Linked DNA regions of Homo sapiens: regions 1, 2, 3, 4 and 5 are each linked to region 6. The links are contacts of gene promoters, found by promoter capture Hi-C in blood cells and fetal thymus (Javierre and others, 2016). All regions are on one chromosome and are shown on one strand. Each heading gives the region's core, a stretch centred on a gene start or on the middle of the fragment in contact. The rest is flanking DNA. Distances are from core to core; before and after follow the strand shown. Region 1 has its middle 15 kb from the start of PBDC1. Region 2 overlaps SLC16A2 (solute carrier family 16 member 2). Region 3 has its middle 36 kb from the start of PBDC1. Region 4 has its middle 36 kb from the start of RLIM. Region 5 has its middle 80 kb from the start of PBDC1. Region 6 holds the start of UPRT (uracil phosphoribosyltransferase homolog).

The links. Contacts are between HindIII fragments. The CHiCAGO score rates a contact against its expected background, and 5 or more counts as called.
Region 1: a contact is called between a fragment that was not itself captured here and the fragment with the promoter of UPRT in region 6, in 3 of 17 cell types (naive CD8 T cells, total B cells and monocytes). The highest score is 8.1, in naive CD8 T cells.
Region 2: a contact is called between a fragment that was not itself captured here and the fragment with the promoter of UPRT in region 6, in 1 of 17 cell types (total B cells). The highest score is 5.5, in total B cells.
Region 3: a contact is called between a fragment that was not itself captured here and the fragment with the promoter of UPRT in region 6, in 8 of 17 cell types (fetal thymus, total B cells, activated CD4 T cells and 5 more). The highest score is 12.1, in fetal thymus.
Region 4: a contact is called between a fragment that was not itself captured here and the fragment with the promoter of UPRT in region 6, in 4 of 17 cell types (non-activated CD4 T cells, activated CD4 T cells, total CD4 T cells and 1 more). The highest score is 6.9, in non-activated CD4 T cells.
Region 5: a fragment that was not itself captured here is called in contact with the fragment with the promoter of UPRT in region 6 in 2 of 17 cell types (total B cells and M0 macrophages); the score reaches 7.1 in total B cells.

The regions. Positions count from the first base shown.
Region 1 is chrX:76,156,410-76,160,134 of GRCh38, reverse strand. No RefSeq gene overlaps it. Among named protein-coding and RNA genes, the nearest start is that of PBDC1, 15 kb to the left of the region's middle. The HindIII fragment of the contact is 4,234 bases long and covers 36-3,725 here.
Region 2 is chrX:74,529,639-74,532,933 of GRCh38, reverse strand. SLC16A2 (solute carrier family 16 member 2) reads right to left here. Exons shown (of 6, transcript NM_006517.5): 6 at 1-1,601. The coding sequence ends at 1,381. Among named protein-coding and RNA genes, the nearest start is that of RLIM, 83 kb to the left of the region's middle. The HindIII fragment of the contact is 655 bases long and covers 1,149-1,803 here.
Region 3 is chrX:76,135,595-76,138,924 of GRCh38, reverse strand. No RefSeq gene overlaps it. Among named protein-coding and RNA genes, the nearest start is that of PBDC1, 36 kb to the left of the region's middle. The HindIII fragment of the contact is 808 bases long and covers 1,366-2,173 here.
Region 4 is chrX:74,576,447-74,580,096 of GRCh38, reverse strand. No RefSeq gene overlaps it. Among named protein-coding and RNA genes, the nearest start is that of RLIM, 36 kb to the left of the region's middle. The HindIII fragment of the contact is 2,448 bases long and covers 1,097-3,544 here.
Region 5 is chrX:76,251,660-76,254,900 of GRCh38, reverse strand. It overlaps the pseudogene LOC100533728. Among named protein-coding and RNA genes, the nearest start is that of PBDC1, 80 kb to the right of the region's middle. The HindIII fragment of the contact is 2,096 bases long and covers 532-2,627 here.
Region 6 is chrX:75,272,582-75,276,081 of GRCh38, reverse strand. UPRT (uracil phosphoribosyltransferase homolog) reads right to left here and starts at 1,997. Exons shown (of 7, transcript NM_145052.4): 1 at 1,442-1,997. The coding sequence starts at 1,827. LOC124905200 (a long non-coding RNA gene) reads left to right here and starts at 2,046. Exons shown (of 4, transcript XR_007068269.1): 1 at 2,046-2,604. RefSeq lists enhancers at 1,617-1,826, 1,987-2,036, 2,057-2,106. The HindIII fragment of the contact is 1,552 bases long and covers 906-2,457 here.

The DNA of each region.
Region 1 (3,725 bases), core at 903-3,402, 880 kb before region 6:
GCAAAGATTGCTGTCTGTTCCTTCCTCTGTAAGCTTCTTCCTAGAGGGACACCTGCCAGATGCCAGCCAGAGCTCTCCTGTTTGAGGTGGTGCTCCTACTGTGAGGTGCCTCCTAGTCAGGATACATGGGGGTCAGGGACCCACTTGAGGAGGTAGTCTGTCCCTTATCAGAGCTCGAACACTGTGCTGGGAAATCCGCTGCTCTCTTCAGAGCTGCCAGGTAGGGACGTTTAAGTCTGCTGAAGCTGTGCCCCCAACCGCCCCTTCCCCCAGGTGCTCTGTCTCAGGGAGGTGGGTGTTTTATCTATAAGTCCCTGAATGGGGCTGCTGCCTTGTTTTCAGAGATGCCCTGCCCAGAGAGGAGGGAATCTGGAGAGGCAGTCTGGCTGCAGTGGCCTTGCTGAGTGAGGTGTGGTGGGCTCTGCCCAGATGGAATTTCTAGGCGGCTTTGTTTACACTGTGAGGGTGAAACCATCTACTCAGGCGTCAGCAATGGCAGACGCCCTTCCCCCCACCAAGCTGGAGCATCCCAGGTCGAGCTCAGACTGCTGTGGTAGCAGCGAGAATTTCAAGCCAGTGGATCTTAGCTTGCTGGGTTCCGTGGGGGTAGGACCCACCGAGCCAGACCACTTGGATCCCTGGCTTCAGCCCCCTTTCCAGGGGAGTGAACGGTTCTGTCTTGCTGGCGTTCCAGGTGCCACTGGGGTATGAAAAACTTCTGCGGCTAGCTCAGTGTCTGCCCAAATGGCCGCCCAGTTTTGTGCTGGAAACCCAGGGCCTTGGTGGTGTGGGCACCAGAGTGAATCTCCTGGTCTGTGGGTTGCCAAGACTGTGGGAAAAGCACAGTATCTGGGCCTAAGTGCAAAGTACAGTCCCTAATGACTTCCCTTGGCTAGGAGAGGGAGCTCCCGGACCCCTTGCGCTTCCCTGGTGAGGCAACACCCCACTCTGCTTTGGCTCACCCTCCTTGGGCTGCACCCACTGTTCAACCAGTCCCAGTGAGATGAACTGGGTACCTTAGTGGGAAATGTAAAAATCACCCACCTTCTGCATTGATCTCGCTGGGAGCTGCAGACTGGAGGTGTTCTTATTTGGCCATCTTGCCAGCCAGGGCTCCAGTGTTCCTTATTTCTTACATACGCTATATACCCCATGAAATTTGTCATTTAATCCCCCATATTTGTTGATCGCCTACTCAGAGCTATGTCCATATGTGTCTAAGACCTAGACATGTAGTGATGAAAAATGCACAGTACCCTCTTATAATGCACTCATCCTAGTGAGATATATTGTTATACTAAAACTGACCATTACCAAAAAAAAAAAAAAGACAGTAGTAATTATAATGATAGTGATTCCAAGGAATAGCACAGTGGCTGACACATATTAGAGGAGTGCCATGACTTTTTGTTGCATGAATGGATTAATGACAATACATTCAAAGCATTACTGGAAGACAAAGACATGAAAACTATCCTGTGACCATGCTGGAAGGCGCTTGACTCCTGAAGTGAATACATCTTAAGGTTAAGGTTAAAATCTCCTGACACATTAAGTTCCCATGAAAACCTTAGCAATTGCCACTTTTGATTGAATGTCTTCCATAGGTAAGGGTACAGAAATAATTATTGTTAACTGCTGAGTATGGATCACATAAGACTCAGACTGTCCCATACCAGTCTGTGTTAGTATATGAGTATGTGTGTGCACATATGTACATATGCATGTGCATGAATGCATTTAAGAAAAAGAGTGGGTCGGGTGTGGTGGTTCATGCCTGTAATCCCAGCAGTTTGGGAGGCCAGGATGGGTGGATCGCTTGAGCTCAGGAGTTCGAGACCAGCCTGGGCAACAGGGCAAAACTCCGTCTCTACTAACAATACAAAAAATTAGCTGGGCGTGGTGGTTCCAGCTACGTGGGAGGCTGAGGCGGGAGGATCACCTGAGCCTGGGAGGTGGAGGTTGCAGTGAACCAAGATCATGCCACTGCACTTCAGCCTGGGTGACAGAGTGAGACCCAATCTCAAAAAAAAAAAAAAAAAAAAAAAGAGAGAGAGAGAGAGAAAAGAAAAAGAAAAAGAGTGACACCTCTCCAACTATACCAGGGGCAGTACAAATGATCTGGAATCAGGATAGATTTAAATTCACCTCCTCCTTGGAAGTTACCAACCTTACTCTCATAGTTTCAGGGCCATGATGGTTTGTGGTTAAAGTTATGTCATCTTTTATTTCGGAGGTAACTGAGTTTTATTATCTATGTGAACTTAGGCAAGTCTCTTAAATGCAGAGTCTTGGCTTCTTCACTTTGAAAGTGAAGATTACAGACACATTTGACTTATGTGCTTATTTCAATGATGGAATTATATAAGACATGAATGTATGAGCTCTTAGCACAGGGACTAGAATACAGCAAATGCTCAGTAAATTATAGATTATTCAGAATGCCATGGACTTTCCAGACATAGCTCAGGTTTAAGCTCTAAGATTATTTTCTGCAAAGGTTATTTTGCTCCACATCTGCTAAGGGAGATACCTAGGTTGAGCATGGGGGAGAAATAGGCATATGTTAGCCCTAGTACTTGTGGGTCCAGCTGCAACTCCTTGATACTGTGGTGAGTTGGGGCTATCACACTGGATGTGCACTGACCTCAGACATGCCCATCTCTTTGCAGTGCATCATAGGCTTTCCCCAAGGGAAGTTCTGAAAGCCCCACTCAGAAAGCACAACACCAGGATGTTATAGACAAGACTTTGAACTTTAGAGGCAGGTAGCTCTGGATTTTAAAGAGGAAAATGAACTGAGCCCATGCTTTTTCTCTATATATCGTCCCTGTTTTCTCCTTCCCTTCATTGGCTTTGTTTACTCTGTCTCAATGCTTCCTTTCTTCCTTCTTTCTTGTTTTACTTTCTTATAGTCACAGAGCAATTTTTCATAGAAACATAAAACATTTTTAAATACTATTAACACTTGGTAATTCAAGCCCCATCTTTAAATTTTCTCAGCTAGAAATGTAGAAAAGTTTCTGCCTCCGTTGTGCTTTTTTTCTAACTAATCAGAACAATTTGGTCATTTAGGAATTGGACTAATTTTTCACTCAGAATTGTCTGAAACTTTTCTCACACCCATAATTCAGATCTCCTTTGTCATTCCATTCCATTCTCAGGTAAGGATATGGCACTGTATGTCAGAATATAACATCAAGCCTTCCTCTGTCTAAGCCTGGTGATAACATTGGTGGCCATCACACCCTGGCTGGGGCTACTAAGCATATTGCTGCAGAGCTCACTAGGTGAGCAGCCAGAGGAGAGATAGGAATGAGAGTAGTGATGAGCTTTTCCTGCTAACTTGGTATTTACTCTGTTCTGATTCAGACACATCTACAGGATAATTCAGGGCTCTGGACCAAGGAATAACCAGACATCTCTAAGAATGGCTCCTTGGTGCTGGTGGCACAAGAGTAACCTTTGTTTTGACCACCGGCCCACCAGTTGCACTGACCAACTGCTTTCAGATGGAGTTATTTAGGCTGTGCCAAGTGACTTGCACTGTTTCTGAACTCATAAATATAACTTGCAGCCCTCACTGGATTCATATTTGATCCCATGGGAGCTGGGCAAAGGAGACACACCTGAGAAGGCAATGTAGTCCTCTCTTCAAAATCACCACTTTCCTCAAATAGCCACAGTGTTACGTAGTTGGCCAAGCTGAGCTTCCCGGATATTAC
Region 2 (3,295 bases), core at 227-2,726, 740 kb after region 6:
GAATGTTCTTCAGTAAGACTGTTGCCAGAGCCTGGGCATAAGGAGGCATCAGTCACCTACTTCAGAGGGATCAAAGTGGTTCAGAGTCTACCTTTCATGGCACCTTTAATGCCCTCTAAGCAAAGTGGCCTAGGATGCCCAGCATGGGAGACACATTGGGTGGTAAAGGCTGGGATGGCTTCCCCTTCCCAAAAGAAATTTTCCAACCCTATGTGCAACTGCTGCCTGTACCTTTTTGGGATCCAGGCTAGGAATTGATTTTTTTTTTCTTAAATAGTCTCTTTCCTGGCCTGGCCCAGGTAGAAATATAGACCTGTCATGAAAACTGAGAGATGGGGCTCACCATATCAATAACTACTGCCCCTCCTCCCGCCATGGCAGCTCGTGTCATCAGTCCTCCTCTACCTGCTGAGATGAAAGGAGTTTCTTCACATTTTGCCATGTGTATACAAGAATGGGGTGCTGGGAGGGCCTTGAGGTTAATGCCTTGGACTGTAAGATTTGTAAAAATCAGTGACTGGAACATGGAACACTGTGGTGTTTAAGGTTTCTTCCCTATATGATATTCTACTCTTCCAGTCTAGGATTATATAGCTTGAGCGAAAAAGTGAGATGTGGCTCAGCCTGAGATGAGTGGGACTGATGCTAGTGTTAGGAGTGGACTGGGACAAGGTGAGGCTGATTGGCCCAAGTTCCGGGTCCCTCCTTTCTTCAAGCACCCATGTGTCTATGACAGTCATACAAAGAAATAGAGGGGAAAGAGTATGGAGAGAAGTCAGTAGAGGAAAAAAAGAAGGAAGGGAAGAGGGGAGCAGACTGTTAACCAACCATACAATAAGGGCACTGCTTGTACCCAGTTCTTGGGAAGCCACAGTCATCAGCAACTCTAAGACTAACCAAGGCTACTTGTCTCATTTTGCCTCCCTGCCCCTCCACCCAGTGGCTCCCAAATATGGATGGCAATGACCTCCTCAGCAAACAGAGATTTGGGCCTACCCTATTAGGCTCCTGGGGACACAGTAGCACCTTTGGCAGTTGATTATAGTGGGTGACTAACAAGCTGGGTCCAGGAGGTCCCATCCTCCTCCTCCCCCAGAGCTTAGAAAGTATATGGAGAGGTTCCAAAGGCCAGGGGTGGTTCCCAAGCTTTCCCAGATCCTGGGAGGAGAAAGGCCCTGGAAAATTTAAAAGCATTCTGGGGAGAATTTAGTTAATGAGTTTGGAACACCTGGAGCTTTGACTCCAAGGAGATTGTCAGGTGGCTGAAATGCTGTGTGCGCAGGTCTGGGAACAAGTGTGCTGGTGGCAAAAATGTAAATGCTGAGCAGGGTGGGATGAAGGGGAAGAGCTGGGAAAGGGCACACAATGGCAAGAAAGGCATTAGATTGGTTCCTCAGGGTTGGGGGAGCCCGGCAGTAGCTCCCCATTGGGGTCTGGGTCAGGGGCCAACATCTTATCCTTGCTGGAATCTCTCTGCTCTTTCTTGAACATCCTTTGATGCATCAGAGGGACGAAGAAGAGGATTACAGCCCCGATGATGGGGGGCACACCGGCAAAGTAGAAGGCCACATGGTAGTCCCCAAAACAGTTGCGGAGTAGGCCTGAAACAGTCAAGAGAGACAAGTCAAGCTCAGCTTTGCCCTACTGTCCAAAGGTACTCTCAGCCCGTTCTAGGGGCCATCACAGTGCCTATCCAGATAATCTTGGCGTGTATTGCCTTAACTCAGGAGCTCCCTCAACTTCAAGGCATTGGGGCTGCAGGCCCTTGAGCGAATGCTCATTATGAAAGAAGCTAATGAAGCTTCTCTTAAAGTTTCTCCATTTATGACTTTCATCAATCTAAGATCTAGTCACACCTAGTTACGGAGTTAGGAGGAAACCTAGTTTAAAAGAAATCCACAGAAGATGGCCAAGTGTTGTCTTGGTCCACAGTGATATTTCCCAGCCTCCTACCCCCGCCCCCTGCCCCCACAAATGGTTCCTGTGGTACATTTCAGATGAGTTTTTATTTTCCTTTTCTCTGAAGTGACCCTTCTCTGAAGTTCCATTTGTCCTAGCAAGAGGCTATACGTGTTCCTTTCAGTTACATATATGGTTGTCCCCTCTGGGTTTCTCCAAGCTGCCAAACCAAGGATATGTTTGACATGGGATGCAAGGCCTTCCCTACTCACTTCCAGAAGCTAATATGTGGTACCTCGTAGTACCTCAGAGCCCAGAAACAGTATTCAGAAAAGGCAAAAAGGCCCTTGGCCTTTTGCTTACTCAGGAGTTAAGCAAATTGGAAAGAAATGTGGATTCTGGGGCACTGTTTGGATCAGGGGGTGAGTAGAGGCCCCCTTCCCCCAATGGGTAGTGTGGCTGTTGCCCAGAAGCCTGAGTGAAAGCTTTTGCCACTGTCACACAGTGCCCTCATATCACCTTGCACATAATTTGTGTTCGAAGAATATTTGTTGAATTAACTCATTTGACCAGCCTAGGAGAAGCTAATGCGTGAATCAATGTTTACAATAAATCCTACAGAAAAGAAATGGAGTTGCCGGGTGTGGTGGCTCACGCCTGTAATCCCAGCACTTTGGGAGGCTGAGGCAGGTGGATCACGAAGTCAGGAGATCGAGACCATCCTGACTAACACAGTGAAACCCCGTCTCTACTAAAAATACAAAAAATTAGCTGGGTGTGGTGGCACGCACCTGTACTCCCAGCTACTCGGGAGACTGAGGCAGGAGAATCGTTTGAACCCAGCAGGCAGAGGTTGCAATGAGCTGAGATAGCCAAGATTGCACCACTGCACTCCAGCCTGGTGACAGAGCAAGACTCTGTCTCAAAAAAAAAAAAAAAAAAAAGAGAAAAGAAAAGAAATTGGAGTTCTCTTGTCATTGGTTTTCTGTTCCTCGTTCCCTGGGATACCAACAGTGCCCTTCTGGGAAAATGGAGGGAGAAAACCAGGAGTGCTGAAAGATGGCAAGTCAACACTTTTCCTGCTGAAGGTGAGCCTCACTGGCTTAATTCTGGGGTATTACTTTAATCAAATATCTTCTACAGGCTCAGTTCAGAAGCCAGCAGAGGAGGAGGAGGATGTCCCTAGGTTTTAATAAAACCAGAGCCTGCTTTCTCTTCTCTTCCTACCCAACTACCTTGCAAATAATCACTTGCCTGTGGAGAGAGTGAGAGGATACTAGATCAGTGGAACTGTCAGAAAGCCAAACTCATTTTTCTCTCCACCCCGCTGGAAGGATCCCTGCTGTCTGAAATAAAATCCTATTGAAACAGATATACCACCATGGAAAATCCATCC
Region 3 (3,330 bases), core at 520-3,019, 860 kb before region 6:
TGATCGGCTCTGAGCACCATACTCCTTTTTTGCTATGACAGGTAAGAAGCAGAGTGGGCCTATTGGCCACTTTCTTCCTGGATTCTGAATTGCTATTTATGCAGCCCCATCACAAGGCTAACACACACTGGCTCCACTAATTGGGAACTGATTTAGGAAATGTTCATTTAATTGGAAAAACATTTTATGTACCCTGGGAAGGTCACACTTTACCCAGCCTGTTCATTTCTCTGCTCAAATCATTATCATACTGAGCAGAAGAATTTCCAGTACTATTCAGCTTTCATGAATTATAGAATGTTTGAGATGGAAGATGTTTGAGGAAACAGAGATTCAGGGAAATGAATTTGTCTGCCTAAGGTCACCCAGGGAGTTCGTGGCTGAGCATACCCTAGGACTCAGATTCCTTGAAGCCCAGGCCAGACTCTTTGGGGCCTCAAAGAAGTCAGCCCCAGATGACTCTTCTACAGCTCTTATTCAGGGCACACCTTAAGAGTGGAAACAGAAAATCCCTAAAGCTGCCAAATATTTCTGTCTTGACCTGATACCTTCCCCATACCTTGAACGCTACTGCCTGACTTCTTGAGGAGCCAAACCATGAGAGAAACTCAGAGTGCATTAATAAAGGGCTTAAGTAACCATAGGAAAACATAAGCCTGTGCCAGAAATGCTGCCACCAGGAAATTTAAATCTCTGCAGGACTTATGGTACTTGATTGGCTCCATGCTCTGTGGGCTGATGCCAAGCCCAAGAACCAAGGTAACTAATTCTTAGGGAAGTCCAAGTAGACACCAGAAGAGGAAACCAAACCCTCATGGTAAATAAAAATCATTACCAGAATATTGTTTCCTTGACACAGCCTCTGACAGCCATGAGTGGCTCTCCACATCTCTTAAACTGTGACAGGTGGCAGTAACCCAAAAAAGCTCAGACAATGGTCCCAAAAGTAGCATCCCCTTGGGTTTTCATCCATTTTCTGAGTGTGTCAAGTTCCTACTGGACTTAACTTAAATCTACAACTAGGGAAGAGAATGAGTGCCATGAGCAAGAGAACAAGTAGGAAGGGGTAAAGCAGGGAAAAGACATATGGAGGTACAGCTGAGACTAATGTCTTGAGCAAAAAATATTTGTGTTCCCTTCTAGTCCTATTCATGCTTGACCACCCTTCCAAATTCCACCCCAATGAACTTAGAGTCTCAAAAACCGCATAAAAAATTCCAGGTTCAGACACTGAAGCAAGGAAAGGGACAGCCACTTATACAAAATTATAAAGTAAACTAGCAGCAGTATCACAGAAGCCTCCTGACTTCCAGAGCAAAGATCTTTTTACAAACATCCCAGCAAGTAATTTCACTTATTCAAGCTTCCATTTCCTCATCTAGAATGAGGGAATAATAATATTACCTACCCCAAGAATCTGCTGTAATAAACTAATGCCTGGAAAACACTTAGCGAAGTCCCTGACCACTGTAAAAGCTCAATCTATATTAACCATTATTATTATATTGGGTTATCTTCTCCACTTGCCAGAATGCAATGGGCTGCCAGCTGCAACCCTATTGTCACTTCTACATCTAGCCTCCTATCTTGCACATACACTTTGAGTTTCCAACTTCTAGTTTCTTTATTGACATAGAAAGGAAGATACTATCTGTGGGAAGGAATAGAAAAAGGAAAGGTGTTTTGAACTACCTCAGATATCAGTGCTAATAAAGTTTTGAGGGAGATGGCAAATTTTCTGACTGGTATAACTTTTCTGTTGCTGAGCCAGGAATCAAAGTGTGAGAGGGATAAAGCATGTGAAATACTGAAAAGAGTTCTATTATAGTTTGGAGTCTGGCATGCCTGTGTTTGAACCTCAGATGTGCCTCTTATTACATGGCCTTAGGCAAGTCAGTCACTTCAGTTTTCCAAGACAAAGTTTCTTCACTTGTCAAATATGGCTCATAATTTCACATCCTCACAGGATCATTATGAAGAGTTCCAAGGGAGAAATGATGAAGTGTGTGTGTGTGTGTGTGTGTGTGTACACAGACAGATATACGTTCCTCCACATATAGTGAGTATTCAATAATTGGGTACTACATCACTCAATTTAGAATTTATGGGAATGTTTCATATATTCTGGCAATGGGTTCATTCTCAGTCTTACTTTTCAGAGTTACTGCAAGCTTTCCTCCTCTTCTGGATCTTCTTTTGTATATTAGTCAGAAGCCAAGAAAGGCAACATCAAGTACTGCTTATTAAAGACCATTTTAAGCTGGAAACCCATTACTAAAAATCAAAGATATGTGACTATTTTTTCACCAATTGTAATTACAAAAAAATTCACCCAAAAAATTGATAAAATACTGTTAGCAAGGCTATGGGAAATTTTGACACATTGTTGGTGACAGTATAATTTGGCACACATGTTGAAGGCAATTTAGGGCGTCTATCAACTTATGAATGCATAAGGCTCTAACAAAACAAATTAACCTCTGGAAATTTATCCCACAGACATGCCGGTATTTGTATATATTTTAAAAAAATATGTGCCAGGTTGTTTACTGAAGCATTGTTTGTAAGAGCAAAACCTTAATGTCTATCATCAGAGCAACACATTAAATAAATTATGGTACAACCATACAATGAAGCTACAAAAAATAACAAGGAAGTGTTCAATGTACTGACATGGAAAGACCAGTGAGATATATTTTAAGTGACTTAAAAAGTGTATATTGTGCCTAGTGCTGTGGCTCACTCCTGTAATCCCAGTATTTTGGGAGGCCGAGGCGGGTGGATCACCTGAGGTCGGGAGTTCAAGACCAGCCTAACCAACATGGTGAAACCCCGTCTCTACTAAAAAAAGAAATACAAAATTAGCCAGGCATAGTGGCGCATGCCTGTAATCCCAGCTAATCGGGAGGCTGAGGGAGGCGAATCACTTGAACCCGGGAGGCAGAGATTGCGGTGAGCCGAGATCGCTCCGCTGCACTGCAGCCTGGGCAACAAGAGGGAAACTCCATCTTAAAAAAAAAAAAAAAAAAAAGAAAGAAAGAAAAGAAAAGAAACAAAAAGTGTATATTGTATGCTACAAATTATATGAAAAAGTGGGTGGGGGCTATCTCCTTATGTAAACACACACAAAGTTTACAGAAGAAATGAATAAAAATAGTTAACTGTGTGGGTGGAGAAGGTGGGAACTGGGGAGATGGGAGATTAAGCTGGAATAGATACTTTATGCTTCTTCTATTTGGTTTTTGATACATGAAATATATTACCTTTTCGGTAAGTTTTATTTTAAAAAGACAATCAGCCCGGGGCGGTGGCTCACGCCTGTAATCCCAG
Region 4 (3,650 bases), core at 1,071-3,570, 700 kb after region 6:
TTCCAAGCAGTTCATCTGAAATAGCTGTATTTGAATATTCCTGGCATTTGTTAGGAACAGCTAACCTGGGTTTACCATCTGTTTCCACTTTGTAGTTAAGTATTAAGTGATAGCATATGTTTAAGTGAGTTTCAAGTTAGTTTTCTGGGGTGGAAGGAGAAAAGTTGACAATATGAGAATAAAGGCTACCAGATCAGAACGAAAGCAAGTATTTTCCAACACCAAGTCTCTAATGTCATTTCTGAAAGTGTGTTTTGTTTTGTTTTGTTTGGCAACATGGAGTGAAATATTAACAGTCCTCTGAAGAAAGAGCCTTTGGAGTTGAGGTTTTGGAGAAAGCTGATTCGTTTGACTTGGTTTGTACTTTCTGTGTGAGTGTAACATAACACTTTCTGTGGCCTTTTTAAGAATCTGAAAACCAGCTGGGCATGGTGGCTCATACCTATAATCCCAGCAATTTGGGAGGTCGAAGCAGGAGGGTCACTTGAGGCCAGGAGTTTGAGACCATCCTGGACAACATAGTGAGACCCTATCTCTATGTCAAACAAACAAAATAATCTGAAAACCTACTTGGTAGTAGAGGACAGATGTTGGTTTCTAGCGTGGGTGACTCCAACCTATCTGTAGTACATGAATCCAGCTGCTAACTTGGAAGATGCCAGAGAAGCACATCACTCAGCCTTTCTTTTTTCTTTTTATTTCTTTTTTTAATAATCTTGGGTGTAACCCCATCTAGATTGAAGGCAAGAATTCAGGAAAATTCATTCATTGTTTTGCCTTGGCCCTCCCCTTTCCTGGAAGAAAGAAAATAATGGAACAGTGTCTGTTGGCACGAAGGTACAAGATTGTTCCTAAAACAAGAGACCAACTCAGCAAGCAACTAAGCCCAAATTCTGCCCAATCGCTCTGATGGAAAAGAAACCTTCCCCTAATAATGAAGCTATCTTTTTTTTGCCTTGCTGCAGTAGGCACTGAGAAGTTATCTTCTTCAGCATCTGAATTAATCCCCTTTCCCCACTTTTGGGGACCAGAAGCATCTATATATTTAAACAGGAAAATCAGTCTAATCTGCTAAATAGAAATTACATTCCAAGCTTCATTTTAGTATAAGTGCTGTTTAATAGCCCTTGTATAGACATGGGCCCTGACTGAACCCTTTCTCTGTCTTTTAAAGACAGGTCAAAACCACCTGCAGAGAAAAAAAAGCTGGAGAGGACATTTTGTTCTTTGCTTCTATCCCACCCCAAGGTGTTCCCTTCAGTATTGTTATTGGTATGTTTGATTTTGTTTTGTTTTTTTTTTTTTTTTTTTGAGAGAGTCTCACTCTGTTGCCCAGGCTGGAGTGCAGTTTTGCGATCTTGGCTCACTGCAACCTCCACCTCTTGGGTTCAAGCGATTCTCATGCCTCAGCCTCCCAAATCACTGGGATTACAGGCCCACACCACCACATCAGGGTAATTTTTGTATTTTTAGTAGAGACGGGGTTTTGTCATGTTGGCCAGGCTGGTCTCGAACTCCTGACATCAGGTGATCCACCGGCCTCAGCCTCCCAAAGTGCTGGGATTACAGGCATGAGCCACCGCACCTTGCCGGTATGTTTGATTTTGAATACCTTATAGGTTAACTGCCCAGCATATATAAACTAGACCTGGCTTAGGCCTTATTTCCTGTTCAAAAATACCAGCTTATAAACCAAAGCCTAGAAATGAGTGGGCTAGGTTCCTGACTCTGACGTCTTTGTGGATGACTCAAATATCTACCTATAAGTGTTCCAAAGAGGTACCATGAGACTCACAAGAAAGTATACTGCAATTTATACCACCCACCCTCTCCAGTCACCACCACTCTACTACACACTCTTTGCTCCCACTGAAAGGTTAACATGAACTGCCAGTGTGGCCTTGAAAGGGAGGGGGAGATAGAGAGATGGTTACAGATTGATGAGTAGGTCATATACCAAAATATGTTGAATACTTACTAGCTGCCTGGCCTTTTTACATTTGTCCTCTTAATATGTTATTCATAACAATTTGGGGGCAATTGGATATTTGCATTTTATAACAGAATCAGAGGTTAAGTGACATGCTCCGGGTCCCACTGCCAGTATTGATCATTCAAGAAAATATTTTAGCTGGGCACAGTGGCTCATGCCTGTAATGGCAACACTTTGGGGGGCGAAAGTGGGAAAATTGCTTGACGCCAGGAGTTCAAGACCATCCTATGCCACATAGTGAGAGCCTGTCTTTACAAAAAAAAATACTAGGAATCTATGTCTCAAGCACTGTTCCAAGTACAAGGGGTACTGTGGTCAACAAGACCAAGACCCCTGCCATCATGGAGGTTACATTCTTTCTTTGTTTTTGTTTGTTTGTTTGTTTGTTTGTTTTTTGAGGCGGAGTCTCGCTCTGTCGCCCAGGCTGGAGTGCAATGGCGCTATCTCGGCTCACTGCAAGCTCCGCCTCCTGGGTTCACGCCATTCTCCTGCCTCAGCCTCCCGAGTAGCTGGGACTACAGGTGCCCGCCACCACACCTGGCTAATTTTTTGTATTTTTAGTAGAGACGGGGTTTCACTGTGTTAGCCAGGATGGTCTCGATCTCCTGACCTTGTGATCTGCCCACCTGAGCCTCCCAAAGCACTGGGATTACAGGCGTGAGCCATCACGCCCGGCAGAAGGTTACGTTCTAATAGGGATAGGCAGATAATATTTTTGTAAATACAAATTCAGATACTGCTTTAATGCTGGGAAGCAAAGTAGATGGGGTGATGTGATTGTGACTGAGATGTGATAGGGTGGTTGGAGAAGACCTGAGGAGGTGATCACAAGCTGAGACCTGAATGAATAGATGGAGGCAGAACCTTCCAACTCCAGGGAATGGACTCAGCTCATTATCTGGAAGGAGGAAAAGGGGCAGTGTTGAACTGGGGAAGCAGTACAAGTTAAGGCAGGGCCAGTTCATAAGGGTTGTATAGTCCAAGGAAGGGAGATAGAATTTCATTCTGAGATGAGAAGCTGTTGGAGAGTCTTAATGGTAGGAGTGAAGTGCTCTTACTTAAATACTACTAAGTGGCAAAATCAGGGCTAGAAGACAGATCTGACTAGGGCCACTGCATGACACCACAGCAGAAGACTTTCCCATACCTATCCTTTCCTTCCCCAGGTGGAAGTGCAGGGAAGCTGAGTACCCAGTACCCTGGAGACAGCTCTGCCTTGCTGTAGGCTTTTGACTTCTCTTTCCAGGTTTCCTTCCTTTCCTAAGAAACTCAGCTTGTGAGATTCATATAAACAGTGATGTGGCTCTTTGTGTTATTTTAGTCTAATCTGGTTTGAATGACCTTTTTTAAAAAAAAAATTAAGACAGGGTCTTGCCCTTTTGCCCAGGCTGCTCTCAAACTCCTGAGCTCAAGCAATCCTTCCACCTTGGCATCCCAAAGTGCTAGGATTACAGGCGTGAGCCACCACAGCCGACCTGAATTACCTTTTTCTGCCATCGCTGAGAAAATTAGCAGCTAGGACCCAATATCACAAATGAGACAAAACAAGCTTCTCCCTGATAACTGGGCCAGCATTGTTGTTTTGTTTCGCTAATAACTGTAGGGATAAGGGTTGCCCAGATAATGAAGAAAAGGGACAGCTGAGTTCTTAATTTTT
Region 5 (3,241 bases), core at 330-2,829, 980 kb before region 6:
AGTACTCATCTAAGAGTTGCAGGCCTTGTGGCCTAGACTGCCTTTCTCCTATGTTACATAAATAACCTGTTAATCTGCATAATAGATTATGTAAATAGCCTATTAACCTATTAATCTATGAATGAGCTGGGAATCCAGCATCTAGTTCAAACACTAAATTTCCTTGCAGGCAGAGGGTATGAAGTGTCCAAGTGTCCAAGTGTCCAAGTCACAACTACTAAGACAAGAGGTTAAATACCCAGAGGGTATGAAGTGTCCAACTATCCAAGTCACAACTACTAAGACAAGAGGTCCAATGCCTGGGGATAATCCTGACCTGTGGAGATCCTAAATTCTCCCCAGAATGAATATAGGTCATCCTTAAAATACCTACCCCAACCACCCAAAAGCTACTTCAGGCCTTTCTGGGAATCACAGGATATTGCAGACTTTGGATACCGGGGTATGATAGAATTGTTAAGTCCTTAATCAGACTTAAAAAAAATGACTAATAGAAACTCGCTTTTCTGGGGAAAATATCAGGAGCAAGCTTTTAGGCAGCTAAAAACTGCCCTCTCACAAGTTCTAGCCCTTGGACCACCCATACTAACCAAACCATTTCAGCTTTTTGTTACTGAAAGACAAGTTGTAGCCTTAGGAGTCCTAATTCAAACCATAGGGCTAATCAAATCTCCAGTAGGTACCTTTTCAACGAACCTAGACCCAGTTGCATGAGGGTGACCACACTGCCTCAAGATAGTGAGTGCAGCAGGGCTCCTATACTAGGAGGCCCTCAAAATCACCATGGGACAGTTAATCCAGATCCTGCCATCACACCATACAGGCCCCTTATTGAACATAAAAGGGCCACAATGGTTCACTGACAACAAACTGTTGAAGTACCAGGGCCTGTTACTAGAAAACCCACAGGTAACAGTTTAGCGGTACTCCATCCTCAACTCAGCCAACCTTACTTCCACTACCAGGAAACAATAACCTGGCACATTTATGCTGTGAAATACTTAACCAAATTTATGCCAGCTTGGAGGACTTAGAGGATCAGCTTCTGGACAATCCAAACAAAATATGATTTTCAGATGGGAGTAGTTTTATCTGGAATAGAGCTAGACATGCAGGGTACTTTATAGTGTCCCTTTCCCAAGTCATAGAGATAAAAGCTCTGTCCCGTGGGGACCTCAGCACAACTAGTGGAACTCATCACGTTGACAAGGGCAGTACAGATCCCAAATCTTAGATCTACTAGATGCTGTTCACTTGACCCAGGAGGTGGCAGTAGTACCCTGTGAGAGACACCAGAGGGGCTCCAATGAAACTGCACAAGAAAATAGGATGACCAACCCCAAACTAAAGAGGCAGCTGTCTCAAAGGATACTTACCTGGGGCCTTACTCCCATTGCTCCCCACTGAATTATCCCCTCTCCAATACACTCAGGAAGAAATAAATTGAACCACCCAACGTAGGTATCAAAAAGAAACCAATAAATGGTACAAACTTGGGGAACTTCTCCATCTACCAAGGGCCTCCCAAGGGTAGAAGGTCATCACGAGTTCACACAACTCCTGCCACGTTGAAAAGGACAATCTACGGCAAATATGTAAATTAATGTTTAGTAGTGTATTATTCCATTCTTGCATTGCTGTGAAGAAATGCCTGAGACTGGGTAATTTATAAAGAAAAGAGGTTTAATTGTCTCATACTTCTACAGGCTGTACAAAAAGGCTAGCTACCTTTCACAAGAACACCACCAAGAGGATGATGCTAAACAATTCATGAAGGATCCACCCCCATAATTCAACAACCTCCCACCAGGCCTCATCTGCAACAATTTGACATGATATTTGGTTAAGACACAGATCCAAACTATATCAAGTAGATAGGAAGAGAATAAACAAAACTATTCAACATGTTTGTCAACCTTTCAACTTGTGCATCATAAGTAATCCCCAAAGAGGGAAGCCCCCAAGTCCAACCCAAAGGACAGGTACATACCCTGGGGAGGACTGGCAGTTGCACTATACTCAGCTCACCACATGCTGCGGGCATAAGTACTTCTTGGTCTGTGTAGACACCTTCACAGGATGGGTACAGGCCTATCCCACAAGGACTGAAAAGACACAAGAGGCAGCTAATTCCTCCTAAGGGAACTCATTCCCCAATTCAGGCTTCCTAGGTCACCGCAAATAGACGATGGTCCATCCTTAATTTCCCAAACGAATCAGCAGGTCAGTTCTGCCTAGGCATAAAAGGGTACCTTCACTTTGCCTGGAGACCACCATCTTCAGGGAACCTGAAAAGAACTAGCTAAACCCTCAAACACATCCTCAATAAACTCTGTCAGGAAACAGTACAGACATGGGTGGACCTCTTACCTTTAGTTCTCCTTCAGATTTGTGTTGCCTCTCAGACCCCTTTGCAATTAAGCCCCTTCAAGGCCTTATATGTTAGGCCATTCCTGTATTCTGACTTACTGCTAGATGAAGAAACTGCTAAAATCAACCAGTATGTCTCTTTTCTAGCAGACCTCCATCAAGCCCTCCAGGAATATGGGTTAAAAACAAACACAAAATTAGAAGAGAAAAAATCTCCACCTCTATATCCTCCAAACTCACTGGTTCTCCTCAAAGCTTGGAAGAATAGAACCCCAAATTCCCAACTAACTCCAGTCAAAGAGAGACCCTTTACTGTTGCATTTTCTATTTCTACCCTCACGGCCATTAAAGTAACAGAGATTAGCAGCTGGATACACTACACCTGAGTGAAGTATTGGAAAGGCCCTTAAACACTGGAACTGAATCCAACGACTTCAACTCCAGAATACATTGTGAACAATTGAAGGATCTGAAATTCCTCTTTAGATGGAAAGATAACCAATGCCTCCGCAGATCCTTTCACCTCAAAGTAATATAATTCCAATATTAGGAATACTGTTTGCAATAGCATCACTTATTCACCTTATTTTAACCCTAACCTGTATGCCCCCCCAAAGTCCCAAGAGAAACTACTTTGTTGCTAATTTTTCTTCACCTTAACTTACTTTCGGGCAATTCCCTTTACAACTTGATTTGTTACTAATTTCTCTTTTTCACAATCTCATTATGGCACCATGGGCCCACTCCTGCTAATTCTCATTTTCACCTCTTTACTAGCAGCACAGTACCATCTTGATTTTTCTTAATTGGAAAAAGCACTACAGTTGCTTCAAAGCACAGAATTTCCTTACTCCAACAACTGCTGGTTATG
Region 6 (3,500 bases), core at 748-3,247:
AGCAGAAACAGATATGTTTCAGAATTGTTCCTAGGAACTATGAAGAAGGGCCTTCATCCCAAGCTAAGGGGGCCAGGCATGGTGGCTCACACCTGTAATCCCAACATTTTAGGAGGCCGAGGCACGAGGATTGCTTGAGGCCAGGAGTTCAAGACCATCGTGGACAATATAGCAAGACCTCCATCTCTACAAAAAAATAAAAAATTAGCCGGGGGGCAGTGCCATGTCCCTGTAGTCCCAGCTACTCAGGAGGCTAAGGCAGGAGGATTACTTGAGCCCAGAAGTATGAGGGTACAGTAAGCTGTGATCTCACCACTGCACTCCAGCCTGGGTGACAGAGAAAGATCCTGTCTCAAAAATATCAATCAAGCTAAGGATCCTGGACTTTATTTGGTAGGCTCTGAGAAGCCAAAGAAGGTTGCTGAGTAGGGCAATTACTGAATCAAAGATGTATGTTATGAAGATTGATTGTACAGTAATGTATGGGTGCATGTGGAAGAGAGGAAAAACTGCAAGCAGAGAAACAGTATTATTACAATAGTGTAAGACAAGGTTTCTAGAGTCTGGTTTAGGGAGTGGCATCTGTCATTCAGTAGCCATTTTTAAAAGATCAAGGCATGTCCCCCCAACCCCTGCCACTAAAAAAGGGGTGTTTTGATATGCTGCTCATTTAAAGTGCTGCCAATAAAGAAAATAGCTGTAGTTCATCATGGTACATATTTCCCTGGAGAAAACCCATTTACAACGTAGGTTTAGAAATTTCAAAATTACATTTTAACATGAAGTTCTGGCTACATTGGTTTGTGGGATTAGGAAGGGCCAAAGGCTCCTTTAGGCTCCCTTTGATCCATTAACTATGTTCTGTGAGTTTACAGTGAAAAATGATAAGAGTTGGACGATAAGCTTTCATGTGATCAAGTAAACCTGAACTCCAAGACTAAAAGACCTTGTTTGCAGTAGCAAATACTAAAGGGTCAGGGCCTGAATAGAATTTCCTTGAAATTGCTTTATTTCTATTTATGAACCTGAGGTGATTGGTGGTAGTGCATAACCTTGGATAGTAACCATTTCTGGGTTATAGGTTTACCATGTGGACAAGCACTGCCCACATAGTATAGGGGAGTTTACCTGCCTGGAATGGCCAAGGAGTTGTCTTTCCTGGGAGAGACAAAGAGCCCAGAGGCTACCTAAAGTCTTCCTCCCCACCCAAAGTGATGTTAGACACCGGAACTTGGAAAGAGAAGGTTGGCGTTCGAGTTACACGACACACACACACACACACACACACACACACACACACACACACCAAATAAAAGGTCTTACCCCAATCTCCAAAGTTTGCCAAGGCCAAGAACACTGTCTCTTAGCCCTTTTACTTCCAATCCCCGCCCACAGCCTGCAAGACCCTCCACTTCCCTTTCCCCTTCCGCTCTTGGCTTACTTGTCACGGATGATGGTCTGTAGCTCCCGTATCTGATCATTCATAGGCAGCAGCTTAAGCTGCGCCCCGATCTGCCGGGAGAGTTCGCAGTCCTCTAGGAAGGAGTTGCCAGCTGGTGCGTCATAGCTGCTACTGTCACCACTACCACTGTTGCCCTCTGAGTTGAGGCTGGAGCCGCCGCAGGCCCCAGAGTCCAGCTCGGCCGGCAGGCTAGAATGGGCGTACCCCGTGAGGAGAATCACCTTGGCCCTGGAGGCTCTGTTTCCCCCTGCGTGGTCCAGGATCAGATCGCCAGGTCGCAGCTGCTCGGGACTTGGGGTTGAGGCAGAGTTTACTTGCTGGTTGTGACAGGGCATGGAGTCCGGACACTGTAACTCCGTGGCCATACACCGGGCCCCGGGCTATCCCCGCTGCTACTGAACACTAAAGATAAAGAGGAACGGGTAGAAAGGACAGATGCTCACGTGCTCTCTCGGTTGCTCCCGCCTCCTCAGAACATCTAACCCTGGCTGTCCTTTCACCCCTAGGCCGCTGTTGGTTTCCTTTAGCACACTTTGGCTCACTCCCGCCCACACCAGACGTACTGCCTGCCTAGACACCCTATTGGCTGCACTCCCCGCCACTCTGCGGCGCCACTGCTTGTTAACCCTTTGAGTCACCCTTGCTACGTGGGTTCCCACAGGTAGCTAAGCCCCCGCAGCGAGGCCAAGGATGCCAGCTTGAAGGATCTTCCGGGGGCCCCTGGGGCTTCTGCATTCAGAACTTTGGGTGATTAGTAGAGCCAGGAAAAACTGGGGGTGGCAGGTGATGATACACAGTTACACACGTAAGGCCCATGTTTTCAGACTTTGTGACCTAGCAGAGAAATTATATCTCAGTAACCGCATCTTCAGTTAGCTTGTCTGCATAACAGAAGGAAGAAGTAAAAAAATGCCTAGCAGGCTGCTGAAGAGGCTGTCCTCTACTAGACTGTTCTAGAAACTGCAGCTTCCCAAGTATGCTTGACCGCCAAAGCTTTTCTTATCTTTATTGGTTGGGCCCCACAGTGTACACGTTGTCATGGGGACTCAGGCGGCATTTCAGATCCACTATCATTTTGAATCTTTAAAGTACTTGGAAAGACGCTTATTTTTAAGTGTATGGACTCACTATAACGGCCTGAGGTAAGAGTGTCTAGGGCAGTACTTTTCAAACATCAGTATGTACCACAATAATTGTAGAGCTTGTTAAAATGCAGGTTCTTACGGCTCATTTTTGAGATTGTGATTCTGTAGATCCGAGATGGGATACAAGAATCTTTTTTTTTTTTTAACTTTTAAGTTCAGGGATATATGTGCAGGTTTGTTACATAGGTTAACTTCTGTCATGGGGGCTTGTTGTAAAGATTATTTCATCGCCCAGGTATTAAGCCTAGTACCCACTAGTTGTCTTTCCTGATCCTCTCCCTTCTCACACCATGCACTCTGCAGTAGGCTCCAGTGTGTGTTGTTCCCCACTATGTGTCCATGTGTTCTCATCATTTAGCTCCCACTTATAAGTGAGAACATGCAGCATTTGGTTTTCTGTTCTTGTGTTAGTTTGCTAAGGATAATAGGCTCCAGCTCCATCCATGTCCCTGCAAAGGACATGATCTCATTATTTTTTATGGTTGCATAGTATTCCATGGTGTATATGTACCACATTTTCTTTATCCATTCTATCATTAATGGGTAGTTAGGTTGATTCCATGTCTTTGTTATTGTAAATAGTGCTGGAGTTAACATATGTGTGCATGTGTCTTTAATAAAACAATAATTTATGTTCCTTTGGGTATATACCCAGTAATGGGATTGCTGAGTTGAATGGTATTTCTGTCCTTCCTTTTTTTAACATGCCTATACAGATTTTTTTATAATTTTTTTTTTATTTCCATAGGTTATTGGGGAACAGGTGCTGTTTGGTTAGATGAGTAAGTTCTTTAGTGGTGATTTGAGAGATTTTGGTGCATCCATCACTCGAGCAGTATACACTGTACCCTATTTGTAGTCTTTTATCTCTCAAGCCCTTCCCACCCTTTTCC